2 separate regions of the Homo sapiens genome follow, and region 1 is linked to region 2. The links are contacts of gene promoters, found by promoter capture Hi-C in human tissues and cell types (Jung and others, 2019). All regions are on one chromosome and are shown on one strand. The core of a region is centred on a gene start or on the middle of the fragment in contact, and the rest is flanking DNA. Distances in the headings are between cores, read along the strand shown. Region 1 overlaps SRSF8 (serine and arginine rich splicing factor 8). Region 2 holds the start of MAML2 (mastermind like transcriptional coactivator 2).

Region 1 (6,622 bases), core at 634-3,133, 1.3 Mb before region 2:
TGTAAATCTGATCATATCAACATGTATGAACTTAAAATATGGAGAATGTTATGGAAGAAATAGTTTATAAGTTTGTTAAGTACTTATAACATGGTTTATCTTTTTGATTATTAATTTTTTACGCTAACCATTGTTTCTGTAGTTAAAATTGTTTTCTTGGTGTTATCTTTTCTCAGAATAAAATTAGAAACTTTTGATGGAAAGTAGGTTGTTTTATTTTCTGTATGACTTTTGGATATTTGTACTTTTGAGAAAATTATTAGCACCAAGTGTTTCTCAAAATATAATTTTTAAAAAATCCTTAATAGGCTTTTAGCTATGTGCTTTATTGTTTTATCACAATGCAGTTTATTTGTAGTTTCTCTCTTTTTTCCTCACACCTATGGTTTTTTTACTTCCAAAATTATTTTCAAATAATCCATTTTTGGCTTTCATCATTATCCCTACTAGATGTTATGTGTTCTTTTGCAATTGTTTCTGCTTATACCTTTACTAGCAAAGGGAAAAATAACAATTTGGTGTCAATGATCTGGTGACAATAGGATTACATTGGAGCCAATTGAATAAATTTATTCTTTCAATCATATGGATCTTCATTAATATTTTTGACTGAATTATCAATTAAAAATATTTCATTCCCTTTGTGCAGAAACTGCTAAATCCAGGGTTCGATTCTTGAATGAACTGGCAAGGTGGCTGTGGTCTGTAGATATACATCCCACATTTTGTTGTTATAACAGTTAGTAGTTAGTATTGCTTTCATATATAGACTCCAGAATCTAAATTTTACGATAATGACATTTCTTCTGGTCATGACAAATGTAATATTTTACAAATATAAATCTACGTAGAATCCAAAGACACACACAGAGCAGTCCTGTCTGAGAAATAAAAAATCAGGACACCCATGGCATCGTAGTAGCCCCTCGCGTCCAGCAGGTGGCGAAGGGAGGTGAGGTATATTTATTAAATGGGACCGAGTGGGACGGGGACGGGGCAGCCCTAAGGGTAGGGAAGCATTGTCAATTTCTGGGGATAGAATGAGACCCAGGCATAGCTGGAGTTTGAAGCTTTGAAGCAAAAATATCTGTAGAACATCTTAAACGTGACCAAAATATGATGTTAAAATCAGCAACTCTTTATACGTTAAAAACTTTGAAACCTGTGGCCGGGCATGGTGGCTCGCGCCTGTAATCCCAGCACTTTGGGAGGCCAAGGCAGGTGGATCACCTGAGGTCAGGAGCTCAAGACCAGCCTGACCAACATGGTGAAACCCCGTCTCTACTAAAAATACAAAAATTAGCTGGGCATGGTGGCGCATGCCTATAATCCCAGCTACTCGGAGGCTGAGGCAGGATAATCGCTTGAAACCGGGAGACAGAGGTTGTGGTGAGCCGAGATCACGCCATTGCACTCCAGCCGGGGCAACAAGAGCAAAACTTCATCTCAAAAAAAAAAAAAAAAGAAAAAGGAAAAAAACAAACAAACAACAACTTTGAAACCTAGGAACAATTTTGGACCTGTTGGAGCAGAAATGTGTAGTTGTCATTGAAGGTGTGAACATACCCTACCTCTACTCTACATGTGGAAGACCTGACCCACAGAGGACATGAACCCATGAAGAAGAGTGATGTGACATGTTTTGCATTTTATTAGTACCATGATCTAACCAACTGAGCTAACTGGCCACACCATTTTATCCTTTATAATGATCACTATGAGGGCTGAGTGCAGAATGGAGTGTATGTGGTCAAGAGTGGAAGCTGTGAGGCTATTGCAGTAATCCAGAAAGAAAGGTGACAATGGCTTAGACTTCAGTGGTAGTGTTGGAAATGGACATAAATAGACATATTCAGGAAATATATTGATCTTAGATCTAATAAGACACGTAATAGATTAGAAGTAGGGAAATTAATGAAAAAGCAGAATTAAGGATGACTTCTCACTGGCTTGAAATGCTAAATGGATGACGGTGCTGTTTAGTGAGTTGGGGAAGACTGGGCGTGGTGATGGGTGTAGAAATTGAGAAAGGAAAATCAAGAATTTCCAGAACTTTCAGAGCAATGTTAAATACTTTCCTTGATAGTGGGTCAGTCATCATTTATAAGTGCATTTCTAAAAATATTGCTTAATTTTGTTTTTGAGCTTTGTATAAGTGGAATTTTGTGTGTACTGATTATTTTGCTCAATACTATGTCTTTAAGATTCTCTGTATTGTTGCATGTGGCTGAGTTTATTTTTGATGCTGTGTAGTGTTTTACTAATTAATAAATCATAATTCAGTTTTTACTGTTCTATTGATGGACATCTGGGTTGTTTCCTATTTTAGTTATTCTGAATAAGGAAGCAATGAATATTTTTATACATAAAACCTGATGTACACGTGTATATATATTTCAGGTATCAATCCCAAAAGTGCATTTTCTGGGTTATAGATCAAGTACATATTCAATTTTGTTAGATAATTTTCAACTATTTTCCAAAGTAGTTCTACCAATATATACTATTATCATCAATTGATGAGAATTCTACTTGCTCCACATCCTCATTAACACTTGTTAACGTCAGACCTTTTAATATTTGCAAATCTGATGGGTATATAGTGGTATTTCATTTGGTTTTAATTTTCTTTACCCTGATTACCAAAAGGTTGTAGCTTTTTATTTGTTTGTTTTTTAGCCACTTGGATATCCTCCTTTGTGAAGTGCCTTTTCAATAATTTGTCCACCTTCCTATTGGGTCACCTGTCTTTTCTTAACAATTTAAAGGTATTTTCTATGTATCTGGATCTTATTTGTCTTTATGCCCTATAAATATATTTTCCCATTCTGTGGCTTGTTTTTTAATTCACTTTATGATGTCTTTTGATGAGTTATTTTTACACTAATGTAGCTAAATTCTTCAAACATTTTGTGGTTAGTGTTTTATATGTCTTGTTTTCTAATTTGAAGCAGTAAAGATAGTTTCATATATTATTTCCTATACTCAGTATAGTATTGTCTTTCAGCATTTAGTACTTTAACACAACTGAAATTGATTTTTGTGCATGTGGTGAGGTAAAAATCTAACATAATTTTTTTCCTACTTGGATATCAATTTTTAAAGCACTATTTATTGAAAACTCCTTTCCTATCCAATCTGCCACCTCTACCATATATTAGTATCCATACTGGGTAAGTTTACTTCTGGATTCACTATTTATTTCTATTGAGATATATACATATACATATACATACTGTGTATGTGTATATATACATGTATACACATACATATACATATATAAAGATGTAGATATATATAGAAGATATAAAAGATATATAGTCTGTAATATATAACATATATATAATTTTATGTAAATAGAATATATATAAAGTCTAAAATATATTTTATTTATATTTCATATATATTATGTATACTTATATATAATATATAAATATATAATGTAATTATGTATTATATATATAGAGAGAGAGACAGGCAGAGACAGAGACAGAGAGAGACAGAATCTTGCTCTGTTGCCCAGGCTGGAGTGCAGTGGTGTGATCTTGGCTAACTGCAGCCTCGACTTTTTGGGCCCAAGTCATCATCTCACTTCAGCCTCCCAAGTAGCTGGGACTACAGGCACACACCACCACATCCAGCTAACTTTTGTATTTTTTATGGAGATGAGGTTTTGCCATGTTGCCTAGACTGGTCTTGAACTCCTGAGCTCAAGTGATCTGTCCGCCTTGGCCCCTATTAGTATGTTTTTTCCATGCCTGCACCTAATACTGTCTTAATTACTTCAGCTTTATAATAAACCTTGATATCTAATAAAGCAAGTTCTCTCATCTTGTCTTCATCAAGAGTGGCTTAGCTATTCTTGGTGTTCCTCTTCCAGGAGAAGTGGATAACAAGATGAGATACTGAAAGTTCTACCCCTTGAACGGTTTTTCCCTTCTCCAGAATTGCTCAGGGACATACTGTGTAGGTTATAATGCCACCATGACCCATGCTAATGGTTGTAGCCACTTATGCACAGCCATTTGTAACTGAGCTTGATAATTTTACTTCCTCAATCAATTGCTTACCAGAGAATTCCCTACAAGGCTATATGTGAAGACTGGAAGAGGATAGCAGAGTGGCAAGAGCAGGCATACTGGGGACTATAAGTCACCTGCTTATGTGATTTACTTGTGTCTTCAGAACATGTCCCATCTTGGTCATTTCAGTCTTATTTCTGCTTGAGGGCAGAGAGCTGGCAGGTGTGACTCACTTTGTGTCTTGTTAGGTCAGTCATCACCCAGCTCATGATGGGAGGCTCAGGTCATATGCTCACCTATGGTCAAGTTTTTTTTATCTCTGCCAGGGCCCAAGAGCAAGTGAAGAGCTTCCAATGGAGAACTGTCATTTACTCAAGAGGAGAGTTATCTACTAAATACAGCATGGATTTGCTTCAGAAACCCAGAACAGTGGTTCTCAAACAGAAATGTACATTTGAATCCTGTGGGGATCATGTTAAAATGCAGATTTCAATTCAGTGAGTTTGGTCTGGGGCCTGAGATTCTGCATGTTTAATAAAATCCCAGGTATTGTCAGGGCTGCTGGTCATGGACCATTCTTTAAGTAGCAAGGATGTAGAAAACTCCATTGTGATTCTCCTGTGGGAACTTGATATGAAACATCAGTGTTTCTCAAAGTGTCCTTCCCCTCCTTGCAACAGCAGAATCAGTATCACCTGGAAACGTGTTAGAAAATTCCAGAATTGGTGAGGCCAATTCTAGGGCCTCACTTCCCAGACCTACCAAATTAGAAACTCTAAGATAGGACTCAGCAATCTGGTTTAACAAGCTCCCCAGGTGATTCTAATATGCACTAAAGTTTGAAAACCACTGTTCTCCATAGGTTGCTGGTTCTCAACCAATTAAATCAGTATCTCTGGAAGTGGGACATAGGTATCAACACTATTTTTAAGTTCCCAAGCTGGGCGTGGTAGCGCATGCCTGTACTCCTAGCTACTCAGGAGGCTGAGGTGAGAGGATCCCTGGAGTCCAGGAGTTTAAGGCTGCAGTGAGCTATGAGTTTTGTGGGAAAATATTCTAAACCGTAACAAGGACCTATAATTACCATCTGAGACGGGAGTGGAAAATTAGTCTAATGACATTCAGACAAGAGCTTTGTAAGGTACTAAAATTGTTTGGTGTCTGTGTAAGCGTGTGAGTATATGTGTGTATTGACTTCTTCCCTGCAGCAGTAAGGAGTGAAGCCTTTGTTCTCCCTTTGGAGTAGCAAGGAAGTAGGCAGGTAGGGAGATTTTAACTCCCTCTTCCACCAGGATGGAAATTAAAGAATACGGTGGGTGAACATAGAAAGAGGTGAAGAAGATGGGCCGAGTCCCAGCCGCATACTACAGAGAAGAAAGGAGACTTGAGGAAGCCTGCTTGGGTTTAGAGGGGCCTGGGGAACTTAGTTACAACAAAGGCTCTGTGCTATTCCTCACTGGGTGCTGGAAAGGACATTCAGAGAGGGATTTCTCTTTTCACCGTATAACTAGAACTATGGATTAAGGTTCTGGATGTCGGGGAAAATGTCCACTGTTAGGGTACTGTGTGGGAGAAGCTCCGCCCACCTCGTATTAGGCCTCCTGATGTAAGATGGGCCACAGGTTAGTGGGTTAGGTAATGTCTCTGGGGACTGGAGCCTTGCCATTGGCCAAAGAAGACAATCAGTCCCTTAGGTGGTATTCAAAGGGTGGAGAAAACTCTGTTGTAACAACATCTGAGATAAAAAGTTAAAAAGGTTTCAGTAACTGTAGTGAAGGGCCCTATGAAAGCAGTTCATACTGCTGAACTAGATTCTCAGAGTGGCTGCCACAAAACAGAAGTGTTGAGATGAAGCTAAAGGCCAGTCCTGAAAGCATGCAGCTTTCTACTCCGAGTTCTCCCACTACTTTCCCCTCTGTTCCCCTGCATTTCTGCATCTTCCTGCCACTTGAGTCCTCCCACCAGTACATGAAGGGTCAAGAGGCCTGTGCCAAAGTGGTGACTGTGATGAACCAAGATAGATTTCCCTGGGCCCAAGCCACTCCTTATATTGGCACCCAGCTGTGCAGCAAGCTTCCCTGGCATGGCTCCAGAGCTGCCGAGGGTTTCCTTCCTCGCTATCAAAGAGAGGGTGACTCCCAGGAACGTGTGCCTCTGTTTGTCCATTACAAATGACCTTGCATCCTTGTTACGAGAAATTCCAGGAAGGCAATTACTCTGGATAGTAATAATGATTCTCTGTTAATTATTCCTTCCATCACCTCCTCCCTCACAGCCTCTTATTTTTCTTTTAATGGTGAAATAAATAAATGATGATGTGGTTTTGTGTTTTCCCTCTTGTCACAAACTCAGCCCATCCATTGGCATGCTGTGTATCATGTATACAAAGTTGATTCTGAAGCGTGATGTGTTTAGTAAAGCAAACCTTTCCCTTACTCACCACTTTTACCTTTCCAGCAGTTAGTTACAGAGGAAAACCGGATGTAGAGCCAGCTGAACAGCAATTGAATCTGGCCTTGCCACTTTGTGGTCATGTGACTTTCAGAAAAAAATCGTTGATTTTCTCTGAGCCAAAATTACAGTGCAGGATTTTTGTGAAG
Region 2 (6,662 bases), core at 4,114-6,613:
TAAAGCTTGTTCAGAAAAACACGCTCATTTGCTTCTCTCAACAAGCTGGGGCAGCATGATTGTCCTCTCTGTTCCACAGATGACTGCTAAGTGACTTGTCCTAGGTAACCCAGATGGTGATCCAGCAGGCACAAAACCAAGGGATGTAGGCTCCTTGTCTGATCTACTTTCTTTCCTCCACATGACATTAGAGAAAAGATAATCTCTGAAGCCAGAGATGACATGGAACCACTTATCTAGTGATCCTAGCAACACAATCTATGCAACAGAAAAAGAGCTTGTCTCAGGCAAAAGGGAAAGATTAATAATGTACCACAGAAGCTCTAAACCTTACTGTTCCATGGACCAGCAATTATTCAGTTTCACAGTTCATTCAAAGATTCAAACATACTTCACCAGAAAATGAGTTAGTGCCTAAAGTCTGCTCCAAGTGGTTAGAAATGCAGATCTGCTCAAAGCCCTATAATCCGGGCCCTCTGAAAGGCCCTGTTCCTGCAGACTCTGCAGCAGCGGGGCTTCCCCTGAACTTGTACTTGAGCTAAATGAAGAAACTGGCTGAGTAAGGGCTGTAGAATTAGGCTGTCAATGTGGACAGAATTAAAACTGGCTTGGAGGTTATTCTTGCATTGTTCTTGAAACTTAAGGCTATTGAAAGGATTCAGACATTATATATTCCTTGCTGTATAATACCCATGAAAGTCAACATTATCCCACCAAACAGAAGTTGTCCTTTCACCTTCATTCAACAAATATTACCCACTGTCTTCAAGGCATTGTACTAGAAGGTATGCAGGATACAAAGCTTTCATCTGAGGACACAGCACATCTTTGATTTTAGATGATCAATATTCTCTCCCTTTCTCCAAAGGACATTTATGGCCACTTATGGCATACGAATTAACTATTAAAGTTATACATTCAACACACCTAAGTCACATAAATCTGGTTATGGACACAGTAGCAATAAAATTAAGAAAAAATTCTGACACTCACCCTGAACAAAGGCCCTTTTAAAATTAATAGCATATCTGAAAAATAAGAGGAGCCCGAGTAAAGTGAGACCTGCCAATGTAATGGGCTTGGTGAATCACTTCAAAATGCCCAGGCCTCCCTTTGGACACAATGTTATCAGGTTAATACAGCACTTGCATCACCATCTCTGAGTACCGTGCTGAGTAACAACGGGCCAAATTTAGCAGCTAAAATGGAGAGGGAATTTCCAACAACCCGTGCAATGCCACATATTCTCAGTGAAAAGCAACTACTAGAAATATACTATCCCTTACCCTCCTAACTTAAACTGTGCCTCTCTGCATCATCACTACACCTGGAGAGGGAGCTCCTCTAAGGGAATGTCTCAGGAGATGGCTGGTGGTTAGAAGAGAGAAAGATTCCCTCTTAGGCCAGAGGTAGCACAGCAGCCAGCTATGGCTTCTGCAGCAGTAAGCTTTCAGTCGGGAAGGGCCAGACACCGCTCCCTCACTTCCCTCCCAGCATGGGTATTGCTACTGTAAAGTTACCACGACCACTAAAGTTGGTTTCATTTCCCATCATGAAACACCCTAGAAAAAAAAGGCTGTCTCAGCTTACTGCCAAGTTGGACAAAAGCAGAAGCTCAAAGAACAAGGCCAGAGGCAAACATGCCACCTTTCCTTCAGAGGCTGGGCTGTGAAGGCCACAAGGGAAGCCCACTGTGGCTCTTCACGGCCCCGCTCCGGCCTTGACACCCCGGGCAGAGATCAGTCTTCTCCACTCAGGGTTGGGCCGGGTGCCTCACTTGCGGTTCCATCCCCAGAAACACTTACCAGGAGACTGTGAAGCACACAAAGCCGCATTATTGGGAGACTTGCAGACAGATTATAAATTTACTGGGGACAATCAAGGCATTTAGATACTTTTGGCTACAGATGCTGGTGACACACACATACATACAAACCTCATTCTTCTCTCCATTTGAGCGATTCTTTACCCCCCTCCTTTACCCTAACATCTCTTTTTTCACAAAACAACCTCCCACTGCTTTCCTAGGGAATTCCAGGGAGAAGCGGGAATAGAGCAGGTGGTAGAAAAAGGATATTAGGCTTCGAAGCTCTAATACAACCCCACAAGCTAGTGCTGCTATTCAAGGGTAAAACTGTAAACCCTGTGCAGTTTAACTGTTGGTAGTTATTTTTCATCTGGAGCTGGCCTCAAGGAGTCCCATTCCTAGGTAGCCCAAGTAAATGTGCTTATGGCTGGGGAGAAAAGCACCATCCTACTCCCCAGAGATTCCCAGGGTCTTCGTCACCATGGACCCAGGCCAGGGATTAAGGGAAGCCAGAAAGAGCCATCCTGAGCGTCTGGCCAGAGGATGTCCTCTCCCGAGAGCTCAATATCAAGCTCCTTTGGAGGAGCAGTTAGACACAATAGCACCATCTCCTTTGGGCTTTTTGAGTACTTTGGGGCTTGCATGGCCATTTCCTGTCGCTTTTGCTAGGGCTGACCTGGGTAAACTGGAGCAGACATAGAATCCAGAAGTCCCATGGAGCTCCAAAAGGGAGGAAGCCTGCAGGGCCACAGGGCAGGGTTCTACCTTCCACCAGAGGCCACTGGTCCAGCAGCTTTGGGGGGAAGCCTGCAAACAGCAGGCAGTCACCTGACCAGGACTGGCACTGAGAATCAATGATCCAAGGGATACTCCTCTGGGATGGTGTGTGTCTGTGCCTCTGGGGAAGAACTTCCAGCCAGAAACTTAATCAGAACTTTTGGGTTTGATATCCTATCACCAGGAGTGGCTGAAGACAAGGTATTTCCTAGGATGATGATCTGTGTAAATAGCTGCTTCGTGCCTGTCTGCTTAACGAATGCTCTAAGGGAGCATTACTGGATTGGACTGGAGTGCTTGGGAAAATAATCGAGATGTGGCTCAGGAGTGAGAGAGTCTAGAGGGAATCAGAGAGTAGGCCTCTTAAGAAACAGTGCCTCCCTAGTCTCTCTTTGGGATATTTTCCCCAAATTTTGTTTTTGACTGAGGGGACATTCGGGGAATTTGCTATTTGTTACAGCTTACCATTTATGTTCTCTTAAGCGAAGAAGAAGGGGGTCACTTCAAAAGGGAGAGGGGAAATGGGGCAAGGAGAAAAAGGCTTTAATAAAGGCCAGCTGGGCTGATAAATGCTTTGGGGCTGAAAAATGGCTTGGGGGCCTAATCAGAGCTGGCTGGCCAAAGCTGGAGGATCCATGAGATAGAACCTTCCTCAGTGGCTCAGATCTTGCCAGCTGGTAGCCTCTTCTTTTATAAGATGTGGACCCCAGAGAGCCTCTGGAAAACTCAGGCTTCTTATCAGTTAAGGAATATCCTATAAGCGAAGGAAAACCCAGGAGTGAGCACCAACAGAACATGATGAGTAGGCGCATGAAACCACCCGAACACACCCAATGGCCTTTAAGGTAGTCAGGTGACATCTTGGCCTTTTTCATTGCCATCCACTCTACCTTAGGCCAAAGCAAACTCTACCCTCACAAAAGGTCACAGGACCACAGCCAGAACCATGAGAAAGCCAGGTGCTTACCGCAATCAGGGCTGAGTTCCTCTGGTCCCCTGGGGTTGAAGCGGGCGGCTGCTGCTCTCCGTTTATCCCACCACTGCCACCATTATTGCTACTGTTCAGCAGGTGCTGCTGGTGGTGATGGTGATAGTCTGGTGGGGGCGGTGGGGCTGCTGTTGCTGCTGCTTGGGAGGCCGCAGGAGGGGCAGCAGGGGGCGGTGGAGGGGCTGTAGTGGTGGCAGCAGTGGCGGTGGCCTTGGTGTGTTTGCCAGCTTTCCTTGCCCCCTGGCCATGCTGTACAAGGCTCAGGAGCTGCAAGGTGCTTTCTCTTTCCCGGTCTGAGCTCTCGGCCCTACCTCGTTCATATCGTCCTTCACAGCTCAGGTGGTGTTGGCGGCAGACAGCGATCCGAGCCCGGAGGCGCTCCACGATAGCACTGTGCACTCTCGGGGTGACTGAGCCCCCTCCAAGGAGCCCCGCCCCAGAGGCCCCCCCTAGCCCTCCTGCGGGGGCCTGCGGGGGCGCTGTGTCCCCCATCTTACCGGACACAATGATTGCTGCCTCTGGGATGGTGAGGTGGAAAGAGGCTACTGCTGGCTATTGCAGGCAAGTCTGTTTTTGACAATGTGAGCTCAGTGTTCAGGGCCACATGAATAGAGGTCTTCAGAGGTTGTGGGGGAGCCGTGGAGAAGTTGTGGGGGAGGGGAGTTAGTAAAAAGAGGGTGGGGAGAAAGAATAGAAACCAACTGGGGGGAGGATAAGTTGGAAACAAACCCTGATTAACTTACTCTAATTGCATTTGACAGCTCTGGAGAAGTTGGACAGAGTTGGTGGATTTTTTTTCCTCCACCAAGCTGACAAGAGCCACTAGGTACTTTGTAAACACACGATCTGGGGGTTAGATCAAGAATTCAGGGATTGTCCAGCAAGAGACAGAAACACACAGCAAAAGGTATTGAGAGAGGTATTAATAGAGAGGACTCCCCCTCACCTAGTTGTTTCCGACAATTCTTTATGGGGATGTTTCTGCAGAGAAACACATTTCTACCATGTCTATGTAACCAGCAGCCTTGACTTTTCCTCAGGTTAAATAAAAAACCAAAACAAAACAAAACAGTGCTGTTTCAGAAGATGTTTAAGTCACTGTTCAAAATGTGCAAAAATCAAGGGAGACTGTCTTTTGGCTTTTAATTTTTCCTCCCTTTCCTTTCGCTCCGGTGTTTTCTCCTCTTTGGGGTACTGTAGGATGTTGTCTTCTCCCAAAAGAGGGAGACAGCTTTTCAACTGTTAACAATGTCAGTAATTGGACTTTTGGACCATGCTTTTTTCTTCAGCTAATCCAATCACCGGTAAAATCCTCACTCCCTCTAAGGTTTCCTAGCCTTAAATGAAAAGCAATCTTAAGTCGCTAGCCACTGAGAGAGATCCTTCAACACATTTTTTTCTTTCCCGCTTACGTTTCTATTCCTCACCCCCGGCTCTATTCTAATACAGTATCAAGAGAGACAAACTCTTCCGAGAGTAATTTACAAACGATGGTCAAACTTACAAACTTCCAGCAAATTGCACCGAGTCATGTCCAGCCACTTTTCTGTCCACTTTTGTACATTCCATCCCCGGCCAGTGGATCTGAGGGTCTGGACTCGCAATAAGCAATCTGGTTCTATCTCCTGTATTTGCTCCGCTTTATAGATGGAAAAAAAAAGTAGCTTGTATTTTCCTTTCTCTTTCTCGTCTGTTGTTAGCCGCTTTGCTGACACTGGCTCGCGCCCGGAGTCACGGCGATACACAGGCTTTCATTGTGCTCCGATAGGAGAGGGAGAGAAAGAGAGAGAGTGAGACAGAGAAGGAGAAAGAGAGAGCCAGCAAGCTGCAGATGGGGGTGGGGGGGCGGGGAGAGGGCGGGAGAGCTCGTTCGAGGCTCCCTGGTGGAAGGCTGGTGCCACTGCGCGAGTGAGTAATCGCAGCCAGGCACCGGGGAAAGGGGAACGCAGAGGGCCTCCCAGTGGCTGAAGAGGTAAATCCCAAGCCCTGCGCATCTCAGCTGCCCTGGCTCAGCTCAGCATCAGACTCGGTTAAGCGGGGAAGGCTGGGGAAATTCCCCAACCTCTACACAACCATTTCACCAGCTCTAAATGTTTAAGAAATTCCGGGCCAGGAATGTGTTTTCCCTTTCAGCCCTACATTACGCCCCGCTGAGGATATCATTTTCATTTTTCAGTATATTGTAAATGACACCACTGAGCAACCTAGCACGAGCTGTGTGAGCACCGAGGAAATGTTCATTAATAGAATAAGGAAGATATGAATGTGTGTGTTGAGGGCGGAAGGGGTTGCGCGTGGAGAGGAGAGGTAATCACATTGTTAGCTCCTAAAGGGCAGGCAGGTGTAGCGTTTGTCTACCTGCCTGCCCATTTGTGTGTCTCTGGATAAGTGAGTCTGGGTGATCACAGGCAAATCAGTTGGGATAAATAAAATATTTTATGAGAATGATACAATTATCGATACCAGTTCTAGAAAAAAACGCTTTTTTTTTGGGAATGCATGATTGCCTATGAAAAACCAAATATAAGACCTGAAGTATCCTTAGCTACCTGGTGCACATATACAATGAGGAAAGTCAATGTGTAGCAGCTGAGTTTCAAAAAGTTTTTTTTTTTTTTTTCTTTTAATGGAGTCTTGTTATGTTGCCCAGGCTGGAGTTGAACTCCTGGGCTCAAGTGATCCTCCCACTTGAGCCTCCTGAGTAGCTGGAACTACAGGTACTCACCACTACTGCACCTGGCTCTGAGTTTCAAGAAGTTTAATAATAGAAACCAAATAGATCTCACACAGATCATTGTTCCCCCATTTTCAAGTGATCCAACCTTTAAAATATCCAATCCTGGCCAGGCACAGTGGCTCACGCCTGTAATCCCAGCACTTTGGGAGGCCAAGGCAGGTGTATTACCTGAGTTCAAGAGTTCAAGACCAGCCTGGCCAATATGGTGAAACCCCGTCTCTGCTAAAACTACAAAAATTAGCTGAGCATGGTGTCATACGCCTGTAATCCCAGCTACTCGGGAGGCTGAGACAGGATAATTGCTGGAACCCAGGAGGCGGAGGTCGCAGTGAGCTAAGATCACGCCACTGCGC

Evidence for each region. Contacts are between HindIII fragments. The study calls those that stand out against the background at their distance.
Region 1: a contact is called between a fragment that was not itself captured here and the fragment with the promoter of MAML2 in region 2, in 1 of the 25 tissues and cell types used here (dorsolateral prefrontal cortex).

What each region holds. Positions count from the first base shown.
Region 1 is chr11:95,068,921-95,075,542 of GRCh38, forward strand. SRSF8 (serine and arginine rich splicing factor 8) reads left to right here. Exons shown (of 1, transcript NM_032102.4): 1 at 1-2,305. Among named protein-coding and RNA genes, the nearest start is that of SRSF8, 5.3 kb to the left of the region's middle. RefSeq lists a silencer at 914-973. The HindIII fragment of the contact is 3,397 bases long and covers 186-3,582 here.
Region 2 is chr11:96,337,832-96,344,493 of GRCh38, forward strand. It overlaps MAML2 (mastermind like transcriptional coactivator 2), which reads right to left and starts at 5,364. Exons shown (of 5, transcript NM_032427.4): 1 at 3,552-5,364. The coding sequence starts at 4,064. MIR1260B (microRNA 1260b) reads left to right here and starts at 3,607; the gene lies at 3,607-3,695. RefSeq lists silencers at 1,434-1,728, 3,981-4,240, 5,358-5,547. The HindIII fragment of the contact is 9,356 bases long and covers 1,125-6,662 here.